Regions from separate parts of the Homo sapiens genome. Here region 1 is linked to region 2. The links are contacts of gene promoters, found by promoter capture Hi-C in blood cells and fetal thymus (Javierre and others, 2016). All regions are on one chromosome and are shown on one strand. The core of a region is centred on a gene start or on the middle of the fragment in contact, and the rest is flanking DNA. Distances in the headings are between cores, read along the strand shown. Region 1 overlaps LOC105371348 (a long non-coding RNA gene). Region 2 holds the start of CTRB2 (chymotrypsinogen B2).

What was found. The method cuts DNA at HindIII sites, captures the fragments that hold promoters and counts their contacts. A CHiCAGO score of 5 or more calls a contact.
Region 1: a contact is called between a fragment that was not itself captured here and the fragment with the promoter of CTRB2 in region 2, in 1 of 17 cell types (naive B cells). The highest score is 5.2, in naive B cells.

Annotation. Positions count from the first base shown.
Region 1 is chr16:75,790,374-75,796,339 of GRCh38, forward strand. The region is part of intron 2 of LOC105371348 (a long non-coding RNA gene); the gene reads left to right. Among named protein-coding and RNA genes, the nearest start is that of CPHXL, 67 kb to the left of the region's middle. The HindIII fragment of the contact is 464 bases long and covers 3,467-3,930 here.
Region 2 is chr16:75,204,485-75,210,684 of GRCh38, forward strand. CTRB2 (chymotrypsinogen B2) reads right to left here and starts at 2,677. Exons shown (of 7, transcript NM_001025200.4): 1 at 2,606-2,677; 2 at 1,606-1,709; 3 at 1,429-1,508; 4 at 1,258-1,336; 5 at 849-1,029; 6 at 289-422. The coding sequence starts at 2,657. RefSeq lists a silencer at 2,267-2,486 and enhancers at 4,159-4,714, 4,715-5,270. The HindIII fragment of the contact is 10,617 bases long and covers 1-6,200 here.

The DNA of each region.
Region 1 (5,966 bases), core at 2,449-4,948, 590 kb after region 2:
TAGGTTGGGCTCAAAAGAACAAAATAAATTTCATCTCAGACACTTGTAAATTAGCAAAACAAATAAATTAAACATCATCATTATTATTATTTTTTGAGACAGAGTCTCGCTCTGTGCCTCAGGCTGGAGTGCGGTGGCGCCATCTCGGCTCACTGCAAGCTCCGCCTCCCGGGTTCACGCCATTCTCCTGCCTCAGCCTCCTGAGTAGCTGGGACTACAGGCGCCTGCCACCACGCCCGGCTAATTTTTTTGTATTTTTAGTAGAGACGGGGTTTCACCGTGTTAGCCAGGATGGTCTCGATCTCCTGACTTCGTGATCCGCCCGCCTCGGCCTCCCAAAGTGCTGGGATTACAGGCGTGAGCCACCGCGCCCGGCCAACAATTATTATTTAAAAAGTTCTGCATTCAAAAGTAATATTGGTTTAGAATTACCTCAAGGAGACAATTTCATGACTAATTCTACTGCCTAATTGTTAGAGAGGGTAAGATGGCTGAACTAACATGGACCTTCCCGGTGGCTCCGTGAGGACAGTCGGGAAATGACGTGCTCCTTGTGAATGGCTGAGAAAAAGCACCTGTGTGACATCTAATCATCCAGACCGGTGGTTCTCCAAGTGGGGTGGGGACTCCTGCAGGGCCTCACAATCCTTTCAGAGATTCTACAAAGTCAATACTATTTTAATAATAACAGCAAAATATTACCTGTCTTTTTGATTCTCACTCTACTATGAGTGTACAGTGGAGTTTTCCAGAAGCCATGTGGCGTGATATTGCAACTCACTGAATACAGGAGCAGAGAGAGAATCCAGCGGGTTTATATCAGTGTAGTAAAATAATTAAAAAAAAAAAAAGGAAAAGGAAAAGAGAATTCAGTGGATTGAGTTGACTGCAGGTGGGAGCATACTACAAACTAGTGAGTCCTTTTCTTCAACAAGGTTTATTGGGAGTCTTCAGGCAGCCTGTCCTTGGCCTCTAGAAGCCCATGGTCTGGTGGAACAGCCAGACCAGCTGAAACCCTTACGCTGAAGGTATGGAAATGCTACAGGGCTTGTACTGGGAATCTCAACCCAGGCTTAGAGGATGAAGACAGCTGCCTGGAAATGTTGTCATCTCGCCTGAGTTACGACAATGGAGTACCAGTGAGTGGAATAAAGCGGAAGAGAGAGTGTGGGGCAGAGGCCAGAAGACAGTTTGATGGAAGGTGGTAGGAGAAACTACACTGTATTTTTGAGATGGATAAGAGGGAACAGGACAGGACAGGAAGGCGACAGCTGTCCTTAGGTGGAGCCCATCTAGCTGTTGTTAGCGTCGGTCTCAAATACACAATAAGTTGGTCTCAAATATGCAATATGAGAAAAATCCAAGAGCAAAACCAAAACAACACATAAGGAACAAAGGTACGCTGGAACATTTGACCTATGTTATCTGCCCCAGTGATGTCGATGTTGCTGAAAAGACTGGAGTTGGCATTCATCTCTCCGTTTCTTTGCCCACCGGTTAGTCTTCCAGATGATCATGGCCACTTCACTCAAGAAACTGACTTTCCCAAATGTACCCAGAAGTGTGCCATGGTCTGCCTCAGTTTTGCAGTTACCTTTCTTCCAGGAAATTATAAATTACTCTTTATAAAAATCACATTGACAGGCGGGGCACGGTGGCTCACGTCTGTAATCCCAGCACTTTGGGAGGCCAAGGCGGGCAAATCACTTGAGGTCAGGAGTTCGAGACCAGCCTCCACCAATATGGAGAAACCCCATCTCTACTAAAAATACAAAAATTGCTGGGTGTGGTGGCGGGCGCCTGCAATCCCAGCTACTTGGGAGGCTGAGGCAGGAGAATCACTTGAACCTGGGAGGTGGAGGTTGCTGTGAGCTGACATCAAGCCATTGCACTCCAGCCTGGGCAACAAGAGCAAAACTCCATCTCAAAAAAAAACAAAAAAAAAAAGAAAAAAAAAGAAAAAAATCACATTGACTACATAAAAGACATAACACAAATTCAGTGAAGATTTGACAATTACTATCATGTAAAGTTCTAAAATAGATTTCTTTGGAGTCATGATTGTACATAACTTACACCTGGACCCATCTGCAGCTAACCTCCCACTCCCTGCAATTGCATATTGACCTTGTGAATTTGTTGATTGGAAAATTACATCCCTTTCCTTACCTCTGAGTGTGAGTGTGTTAGCAGCAGTTCAGTGGGATATTTCAGGATTCACAGTTCTTTAATTCTGTCTTCCGGACAAACTCCAAATTGTTTTTTATGTCATAGTGAAATATCAGAACTATGGCCAGTCTTTAGCTGACTACATTTTGAAAGCTGAAATAGGATAGAGCTACTGTGTGTGTAAAGGAACGGCCACCAGGTATAATGGGAGACTTTTTAAAAGCAGTCCCCGGTGTAAGCCCGATGTGAGTTGGATGTTTTTATTGGTACACTGATTCCTTAGGTGGCCTTCAAACATCTATTCCTGGACTCTTCCATGTTTTCCTGGTGCTCTCAGCATAGGCGCTCCACTGGTCTTAGAAGCTGCAGGACTGCCTGATGGGCTGGCTGCCTCTGTGCACTTCAGTGAGCCATTGTAAATAAATAGTCCTGCCCCGTCACTTCCATTTTCGTGATTCAACTGTATTGTTTCCACAGCATTTATCAGTGTCTGAAATGATCTTACTCACTTCTGCTGTGTTTATTTTCTGTCTCCCTTCACCAAAATGTAAAGCTGCTTGAGGTCAGGGGTCTTGCCTTTCTTGTTCATCATTGTGTCAACAATGCCCAGATAGGACCTGGCACAAATGGAGGGATCAATACAAAATCATTGACCATGTGCATAAATGAACGTGCATCATAGCACCTGATGGCACACCCATTGTCATCATCATCAATGTCAAGAAGCATTTATTAAGCAGTACCACAGTGTTGCACAACCCCAGGGGGCTCTGTCTGCATAGCACAGGACCAGGCCCTACGGAAAACAGATGGAAGCCAAGAAGGACCTGATCAAATATAAATTTGTCATCAAAGTTGCTCCTGGATAATATGTCAGTGGATTCCCTTATATTTGAAATCATTTTATAATAAGGATCTCTAGGTAGTTCAGTGAATAAACACCTCTGGATTCCCCACAGAGCCACCTTAAACAGAATGCAAACACTGCTCTCCAGTAAACAGCATTAGAGGCAAAGGGCTCACTAGCCTTTCCTTTGGAAGATTTCATAATCACAGCAAGAGACTTTCTGCCCAGAAACAAGTACATATACAAAGTAATTCTTTTATTAAATTGGGATTAAATGCTATCTAAAACTAATTTAGAGAGAGAGTTCCATTTAATTGACTGATTTGGGTAGGATAAAATGGTAATAATTGTTTTACATGGTATTTAAATTTCATTACTTGAGTTTCTTATTGCTTCTTTTCACGTGAGAATTACCTTTGCAAATACGACATAATAGAAAGCTTTTCAAAAAGCTTTTACTTGCATTTTCTCTCGGAGTGTATTGGTGTTGTATTCAGGGATTGGAGGCTCATAAGAGCATAATGAGAAGATGAATGCACCTCAACCTTAGAGGTGTCTCCAGTTACTGACTTTGTTCTTTCCCTCAGGCTGAATGAGGTGAATATAGAACGTCTTGCAGTTGAATAATTTGGCTGCTTTCAGGCAAGAATTTTTGTGATGTTATAAAAATTGAGATCTAAAAGGAAACTTAACCTTCAGTTCATTCTTTTGATGTATTTTGCCTGAAGCATGGTGCTAGGACCTGTTATCTCAAATAGGCAATATAAAAATATCTTTCTAATTCACTCCTACAGTTGAAAGATCCTCATGGATTGAAATTACTGTGATCTATCAAAATTCACTATGTTGTGGAAATAAAATAAAATCACATGTCAGACGAGGAATGATGACAACAATGGACCGGCTTATTATGAAGCTTAAAATGAAAATGCTTTATCGGCAACAGTATTGGATTCTTGAAAGATGGAAAATATGTGTCAAAATCAGAGAAGCCACATTAGTGATATGGCTGGTTTGTCCCATGCTTTTGGAATCGGTAGCAATATTTGGTTTAATTGTATGTCTTTTTAAAAATCAGAAGATAATTCACACCATAAAATTCACCATTTTAAAGTGTACAATTCAGTGGGTTTGGATAGATTCGTAAGGTTGTGCAACCATCATGACTATCAAGTTCTGGAATATTTTCACCCACTCTCAAAAAGAGGAAGCCATGATTGTGCTGTCTGTCTTTAAGGATTTGTTTATTCTGGACTTTTCATTTAAACTGAGTCAAATGGTATGTGTTCCTTTATGTGTGGCTACTTTCACTTCATGTTTTTAAGGTTCATCTATGTTGTAGCATGTATCAGCATTTCGTGTTTCTAAATAACAGAACACTATGCTATTGTCTAAGTGTCCTACATTTTATTTACGTGTTCATAAGTTGATAGACGTTTGTTTTGTTTCCACTTTTTGGCTACTGTGAATGTGTGCAAATTTTTGTGTGAATGAACACATGTTTTCCTTTCTCTTGAGTATATCTAGGAGTGGAAATGCTGAATCGTATGGTAACTCTGTTTACCTTTTTGAATAATAGCCAAACTGTTTCTCACAGCAGCTGTGCAATTTTACCTCTCCACCTGCAATGTATGAGGGGTTCCAGCTTCTCTACATCCTTACAACACTTGTTATTTTCCATTTTCAAAATGATAGTCATTTTAGTAGATATAAATGGGTACCTTATTAAAAAATAAATAAATAAATAAATGGGTACCTTATTGTGGCTTTGATTTTTATTTCTCTAGTGACTAAGGAAGGATGTTGAGCAGTTTCTCAATTGAGTATTTGCTATATCTATCTATCTATCTATCTATCTATCTATCTATCCATCCATCCATCCATCCATCCATCTAATGTCCATTTGAACTCTGTCTCATTTTTTTATTTGGGTTATTTGTCTTTTTTAAATTTTAAATTTTTGTGGGTACATAGGAGGTATAAATATTTGTGGAATATATGAGATATTTTGATACAAGCATTCAATGTGTCATAATCGCATCAGGGAAAATGAGATATCCATTGCCTCAAGCATTTTTCCTTTGTGTTACAAACAATCCAATTATACTTTTTTAGTTATTTAAAAATGTACAATTAAATTCTTTTTTGTCTATAGTCACCCTGTTGTGCTGGCAAACACTAGGTCTTATTCATTCTTTCTATTTTTTGTACCCATTAACCATACCCACTACCCCACCCTGTCCCCCACTACCTTTCCTAGCCTCTGGTAACCATCCTTCTACTCTCTATCTCCATGAGTTCAATTATTTTAATTTTTTTTTTTTTTTGAGACAGAGTCTTGCTCTATCACCCAGGCTGGAGTGCAGTGGCCCCATCTGGGCTCACTGCAAGCTCTGCCTCCCGGGTTCACGCCATTCTCCTACCTCAGCCTCCTGAGTAGCTGGGACTACAGGTGCCCGCCACCGTGCCCGGCTAATTTTTTGTATTTTTAGTAGAGACGGGGTTTCACCGTGTTAGCCAGGATGGTCTCGATCTCCTGACCTCGTGATCCGCCCACCTTGGCCTCCCAAAGTGCTGCGATTACAGGCTTGAGCCACCGCGCCTGGCACAATTGTTTCAATTTTTAAGTCCCACAAATAAGTGAGAACATGTGAAGTTAGTCTTTCTGTGCTTGACTTATTTCGCTTAGCATAATGACCTCCAGTTCCATCCATGTTGTTGCAAACGACAAGATCCTATTATTTTTTGTGGCTGAATAGTACTCCATTGTGTACATGTACCATATTTTCTTTATCCATTTGTCTGTTGATGGACACTTAGGCTGCTTCCAGATCTTGGCTATTGTGAACAGTGTTGGAAAAAACATGGAAGTGCAGATATCTCTTGGATATACTGATTTCCTTTCTTTTGGCTGTGTACTTAGGATGGGATGGTTGAGTCGTATGGTAGT
Region 2 (6,200 bases), core at 1,427-3,926:
TGCCATGCACTCTTGGAGGGAGCTGGGGCAGGTGGCTTCCCTCTCTAAGCCGGGGCACCATCCATCTCTCCAAACCTCCAGCTCACAGGGCTGCAAGGAAGTCCCCAGGGGCAGCCTCAGCTGCATGGCCTGGAGGAACCCTCATGGGCGGCTGTGACCCCAAGGCCTGGCCCTCACTGGGCCCCAGGAGGGTGTGGGGTTAGTAGATGAGAGCAGAGAGGGGTGGAAAGCCCAGACCTCCCCTGCACCCCGCTCGCCTGGCCAGGGCCTGGGCAGGGCCAGCCTCACCATGCAGGAGGAGACGCCACTGGCCCCGGCACAGATCATCACGTCGGTGATCCTCCTGCCCCAGGACTTCTTGCATTCGGCATTGGACAGGAGGGGCAGGGCTGCCTGCTGCAGCTTGTCAGGGGTCTTGTTGGCTGCAGGACAGGAGGAGGGTCAGGGCCCCTGGGCTCACTCAGCCAAGAGTGGAGGGAGAGACCCGGGGCCGACACGCCTGCCCTACCCTGCACCATCACCACGATGTTGGGTACGGCCCCTGGAGCCTCAGAAGCGCCTGTGGGACAAGGGGGCCTCGGCCCTGCCCGGGTGGGAGCCCCACGCTGCGACTCCAGGCAGGTCAGCCAGGGCAGGGCTCACCCGGCCGGGCGCTGCTCAGAAGCTCCCTGTGCAGGCTCCTCATGATCCGACCTGGATTTTATTTGCATTTGGGGGATTTTAAATTCAGAAGATTTTCAATAACGAACGGGCAGTTAGGAGCGTGTTGGAATTTAGAGCCAAACGGTCACGGGGGGACTCCACGGCCAGGCAGCCCAGACCCCAGAGGCAGCCCCGCGGCCCCTCACCGTTGTACTTGGTCTTGCCCCAGCCTGTGGTGGCACACAGTGTCCCCGCGGGGAAGTCGTCGTCGGCGCTGGGCAGGCACACGGCGGACACTGTCTGGGAGAAGCGGGCAGGTGTGGCCAGCTTCAGCAGGGTGATGTCATTGTTCACGGTCAGAATGCTGAACTTGGGGTTCTTGAAGACCTGGGGGTGGGGGCCAGAGTGCCGGGGTGAGGCCCTGGGAGGAGGCAGGACCTGCAGGCTTCGAGGACAGACTCCTTCCCTGGTGCCCGTTAAGGAGCAGTCCATCCCCAGGGCCGGAATGGGAATCACGAGGCCGGCCCGGCCCCACTGGGCGCCTGTCCCTGAAGCAGCCGAGGGGTCTCCCCCCGTGCCCACGGCCCTGCCCTCTGCTGCACGGGGCCTGGGTACCTTGGCGATCTTCAGGACCTGGATGTTCTCCTCGTCAGAGCCCTGGTCAAACTCCCCAGCCACGACCACGTCGGAGGTCCTGGGCAGAGCGTTGTGGGTGAGAGAACATGCCCTGCTCCCCTCCCACCCGACCGGTGCTGGAAGCGGAGCCCAAGGCTGCCCGGTCCTCACCTGACCCCGCAGTGGGCAGCGGTGACCACCCAGTCCTCGCTGATGAGGGAGCCCCCGCAGAAGTGGAAGCCGGTTTTGTCCTGTGAGCAAGATGGGGAGGGTCAGCACCTCCCACCCGGGGGCACCCCCAGCCTGGCCCCTACCCAGGGTGCCCCCCACCTTGCAGAACCCCCTCACCTGCAGGGACACCTGCCAGGGCCAGGAGCCGGGGACGGCGTCCTCCCCATTCACGATCCTGGACAGGCCGCTGAGCACAGGGTGGATGGCGGGGACCCCGCAGCCTGGGGGCGGGAGTGGGCTGAGGGGTGGGTACCACCCACCCAGGTCCTAATGCTCCAGCCTCCTCTCACTCCCAACTCTTTTCCAGTCTCTGGGACCTAGACTGGCTCCCACATCCCCTTCTCTGAGAAGTTGGCCCTGGCTCTCCTCTCCGCAGAGCTGGAATCCCCAGGTACAACTGAGTCCAATGAACTGGGCTGTGGGCTGCTGAGGAATGGGGTGTTGGCCCCACCTCAGTTCGGAGAAGTCACACAGGTGGAGCGTGCGGTGGGCGGCAGCCCCGGCGCTCAGTCTGGGAGGCCAGACTCTGTGGGTTTGAACCTGGCTCCCTCCCTGCCCAGCTAAGCCACTCAGTGTCCCCATCAGCAAAGTGGGGATCACGCTGTTTCTGACCTCACAGGTTTGGTAGAGTGAGCAGGCAGAGCGCCAGCTCTGCGCCTGGCACCCGGGAAGTGCTCCGTGAGCAGGAGTTTAAGAGGGTGAGGCTCGAGGTTCTGAAAGGTTTGGACTGAACGGTGCCAAGCCCCAGCTGCCCACACATTCACCACCCAAACCTGTGCTGGGGCCGCTGACTGTTTGGGGGTTTCCCGAAGGCCTCAGGGCAGCCCCCGGACACCTGCCTCCTCCCCCCGCCTCCTCCCCTGAGAGCCTCAGGTCTGCTGGGGGTGAGGAAGGGGAGCGGGACTCCCCATCTCCTGAGCTCAGAGGCGGCAGCTGAGCCTGGGAGGGAGGCATTGACCTCTCAGCGCCCACGGCAGAGATGGAGCCGGTGACTCGCCCAGGCCCACACTGCGGTGCACAGCTGAACTGGGAGCTGGGACCCTGCTGCCTCTTGCTGGCCTCGGGGCTGGGAGTGAGAGGAGAAAACCCTTCGGCCTCCGCAGGGCCTGGCACTCACCGAAGGTGGTACCCAGGAGGGCCCAGCAGGAGAGGAGCCAGAGGAAAGCCATGGTGCCGCTGGCAGGGGTGTAGGACGCCTGTCTGCCGGTCCCCGTTATAGCCCTGTGTGCCTGCTGTTATCTGGAGACCTTGGGGCGATAATCCCTTCCCTGGGAGTGGGCAAGATGTGTCGGTGCAGGGCTGGCCAGGAAGCCTGGGATGGCAGCAGCTGTGGCCTTAGCTGAGCCGGGCTAACCCAGGTGGCCTTCGACCATTGCCTTTCTCCTCCAGGCCCAGGCTTGGGCAGGGGCCTCCAGGGGCTGAGTCCAGCATCCCCGGGTTTGAGCCCCAGCTGAGTCTCTTGTGCTCTGCAAAGAATTCACTTGATCTTTTCATGGTTTGAAAACCCCTGGGCAGGCCGGGCATGGTGGCTCACGCCTGTAATCCCAGCACTTTGGGAGGCTGAGGCGGATGGATCACGAGGTCAAGAGATCAAGACCATCCTGGCCAACATGGTGAAACTCCGTCTCTACTAAAAATACAAAAAATTAGCCAGGCGTGGTGGCGCACACCTGTATTCCCAGCTACTTGGGAGGCTGAGGCAGGAGAATGGTGTGAACCCGGGAGGCGGAGGTTGCAGTGAGACGAGATTGCGCCACTACACTCCAGCCTTGTGACAGTGAGACTGTCTCAAAAAAGGAAAAAAAACAAAAAAAAAGAAAAAAACCCAATGGGCAATGTGACCAAGTAGAGGAGAGGCTGGGGGAGCAGGCCTGTGCCCCATGGTGTAGCCAGAGGCTGGGGTGCGGGTGCTCGCCGGGTCCCAGGGGATGGCTAAGAAGGCTCAGTGAAGGCCCAGTCGACATCTGTGTTGGTCACTTGGGCTGTGTACAGGGGAGGGGTAGCTACCTGCTGTCCTCACACTGGGCCACCCCTGCACACAGGCGCCAGCACACCTGGGCCCTGGAGCTGAGCAGGTGGCATCAGAGGGCAAGACTGGGCCTAGGGCCCGGCCTGGGGGCCTGGCATCGCCCTGATGAGAACTGATGGAGGCTGAGCCTCAGGGCAGAGCATGGGCGGGGACACCTGGTTCCTCGTGCGGGTGGCAGCATGGGTGGTGGAGCCCTTTCTCAGCAACTGGGAAACGGGGGAGGGAGAAATTTTGGATTGAGGCTGCCAGATGGAGGGCAAGTTCCCCAAAATGCACAGGAAAAGGTGCCTCGTGGCTGTTTTCAATTCCACCACACTGATGCCTGCAGCATGTGTGTTTACAGCACGGGTTGTGGGGTCAGGCAGCTGTGGAGCCGTGGGCAAATGACTTGCCCTCTCTGATCCTGTATGTAATTGAGGATGCTTAGAGTATGGGTCCCATGACAAAAGGAAGAGCCTTCTTGAGCACCAGGACCAGGCCAAGCATGCAATCCACGCTGGCGGGGCCCCTACATTCCTCTTTCTTGAGTGAATCACCTGTTCAGGCCCTTCGCTCATTCTAGAAGATTGTCTGAGGACAGAGGGGTTGGCGGGCACCAGCAGGACGGAGCATGGCCTGGTCGGGATGAGACGCACCCACCTCTGCATGCACATGGGCTCTTCCTGCCAGCCAGTGCCCACCAGGCCCACGGGAACAGCTGAACAAAACCAACAAATTCCTGCGTGTGGCAGCTGACAGCCGGGAGGAGGCTGGAGAGTTTAGGGAAGAGAGTCAATTTTTAAAATAAGTAAAATACACACACCAGCAGCTAAAGAGTTCTTCTTCTCATTATTATTACTGATACTGAGGCCAGGAGGGCCTCACTCTGAAGGGGAGATTTAAGCAAACAGCCTAGGAGTTTGTGGGAGCAGTCCAGAGCACCCTCGGAGGAGAGGAAACGAACCTGGGGTCGCAGGACCCAAAGAGGTCTGCGTCCCTAGGGCAGCGAAGAGCTCAGAAGTCGAGGGGGCGGGCCCAGGAGGGCCCTAAGGAGACGGTACTAGAGCCTCAGGGGCAGCCCCTAGCTATAAGCTGGCTGGGGCAGATGGGGGAAAGGGCGCAAGCCCTCACCTGGCCTGAGTGACCTGTGGCCCCAGCTGTGTGGCCTTAGGAGCTAACCGCTGGCCAGGACGTCACCCGCCATGTCCCCAACCCCGCAAAGGCTACAGAGGCTTGTGGGAACCGTGCAGCTGCAGCAGTGGTCGGGGACAGGCACGCACAGGTGTTCCCACTCCACTGCTCCTGGGGAAGGGACCCCTCCCCCACACTGCCCTCCAGTCCCCATGGGATCTGGACCCGAACGGCGAGGAAGGAGCCCGGGGACACTCAGGACAGATGAGTCAGGACACACGCGTGAGCCGGGGCCCTGGTGGATCGGGGAGGCAGAACCGTGGCCTTGGCCAGAGTGGGAGCGGGAGGGATGAGCTGGGGGTCCCCACGTGCTGCAGCCTCCTGGCCACCTCTTCCTTTACTTACCTTGAAATGCCCTCACTTAAAATGTATATAAAGCCAGGTGCAGTAGCTCATGCCTGTGATCCCAGCACTTTGGGAGGCCGAGGCAGGAGGCTCACTTGAGCCCAGGAGTTCAAGACCAGCCTGGGCAACATGGTGAGACCCCGTCTGTACAAAAAATAAATTAGTCAGGTGTGATGGCGCAGGCATGGAGTCCCAGATCCAGGCTGGGACTTGGGAAACTGAGATGGGAGGATCACTTGAGCGTAGGAGGTGGAGGCTGCAAGTGAGCGGTGATCATGCCACTGGACTCCAGCCTGGGCGACAGGGTGAGAGCCTGTCTCAAAAAAACAAAAACAAACAAACAAACAAACAACCAAACAAACAACGAAGTGGATATAGGTTGATAACTTGTGAGGATCCAGGCACCTCTGTACCCACCACCTGCCTCAAGGCAGAGACCATTTCCTTCACAGCCCCTTGGCAGTCAATCCCCCACCTCCAGAAGCAACCACTGTTCTGATTTCTTTACCCGGAGGTTAGGTTTTGGTTTTGGTTGAAAGAGGCTGGTTCTGATGCCCAGGCTGTAGTGCAGTGGCATGATCACGGCTCACTGCAGCCTCAGCCTCCTCAGCTCAAGCAATCCTCCCACCTCAGCCTCCTAAAGTGCTGGGATTACAGGTGTGAGTCATCGCACCAGGGGATGTTGTCGTTATTGTTAAATTTTAAAAACTGTTAGCAGCCAGGTGCAGTGGCTCATGGTTGTAATCCTTGCGCTTTGGGAGGCCAAGGGGAGAGGATCCCTTTAGCTCAGGAGTTCAAGACCAGCCTGGGCAGCATAGTGAGACCTGTCGCTAAAAAAAAAAAAAAAAAAAAAAAAAGCCAGGCATGGTAGCTGGCACCTGTAATCCCAGGTACTGGGGATGCTAAGGTAAGAGCATGGCTTGAGCCCGGGAGGAGGAGGTTGCAGTGAGCTGAGATCACGCCACTGCACTCCAGCCTGGGGGACAGAGCCAGACCTTGTCTCACACACACACACAAAACCAACTTTAAATTGTGGTAATACACATAACAAAATTGACCATTGCACCCGTTGTTTCTTTGCTTGTTTGTTTGCTTTTGAGATAGAGTCTCACTCTGTCGCCCAGGCTGGAGTGAAGTGGCATGATCTTGGCTCACTGCAAGCTCTGCC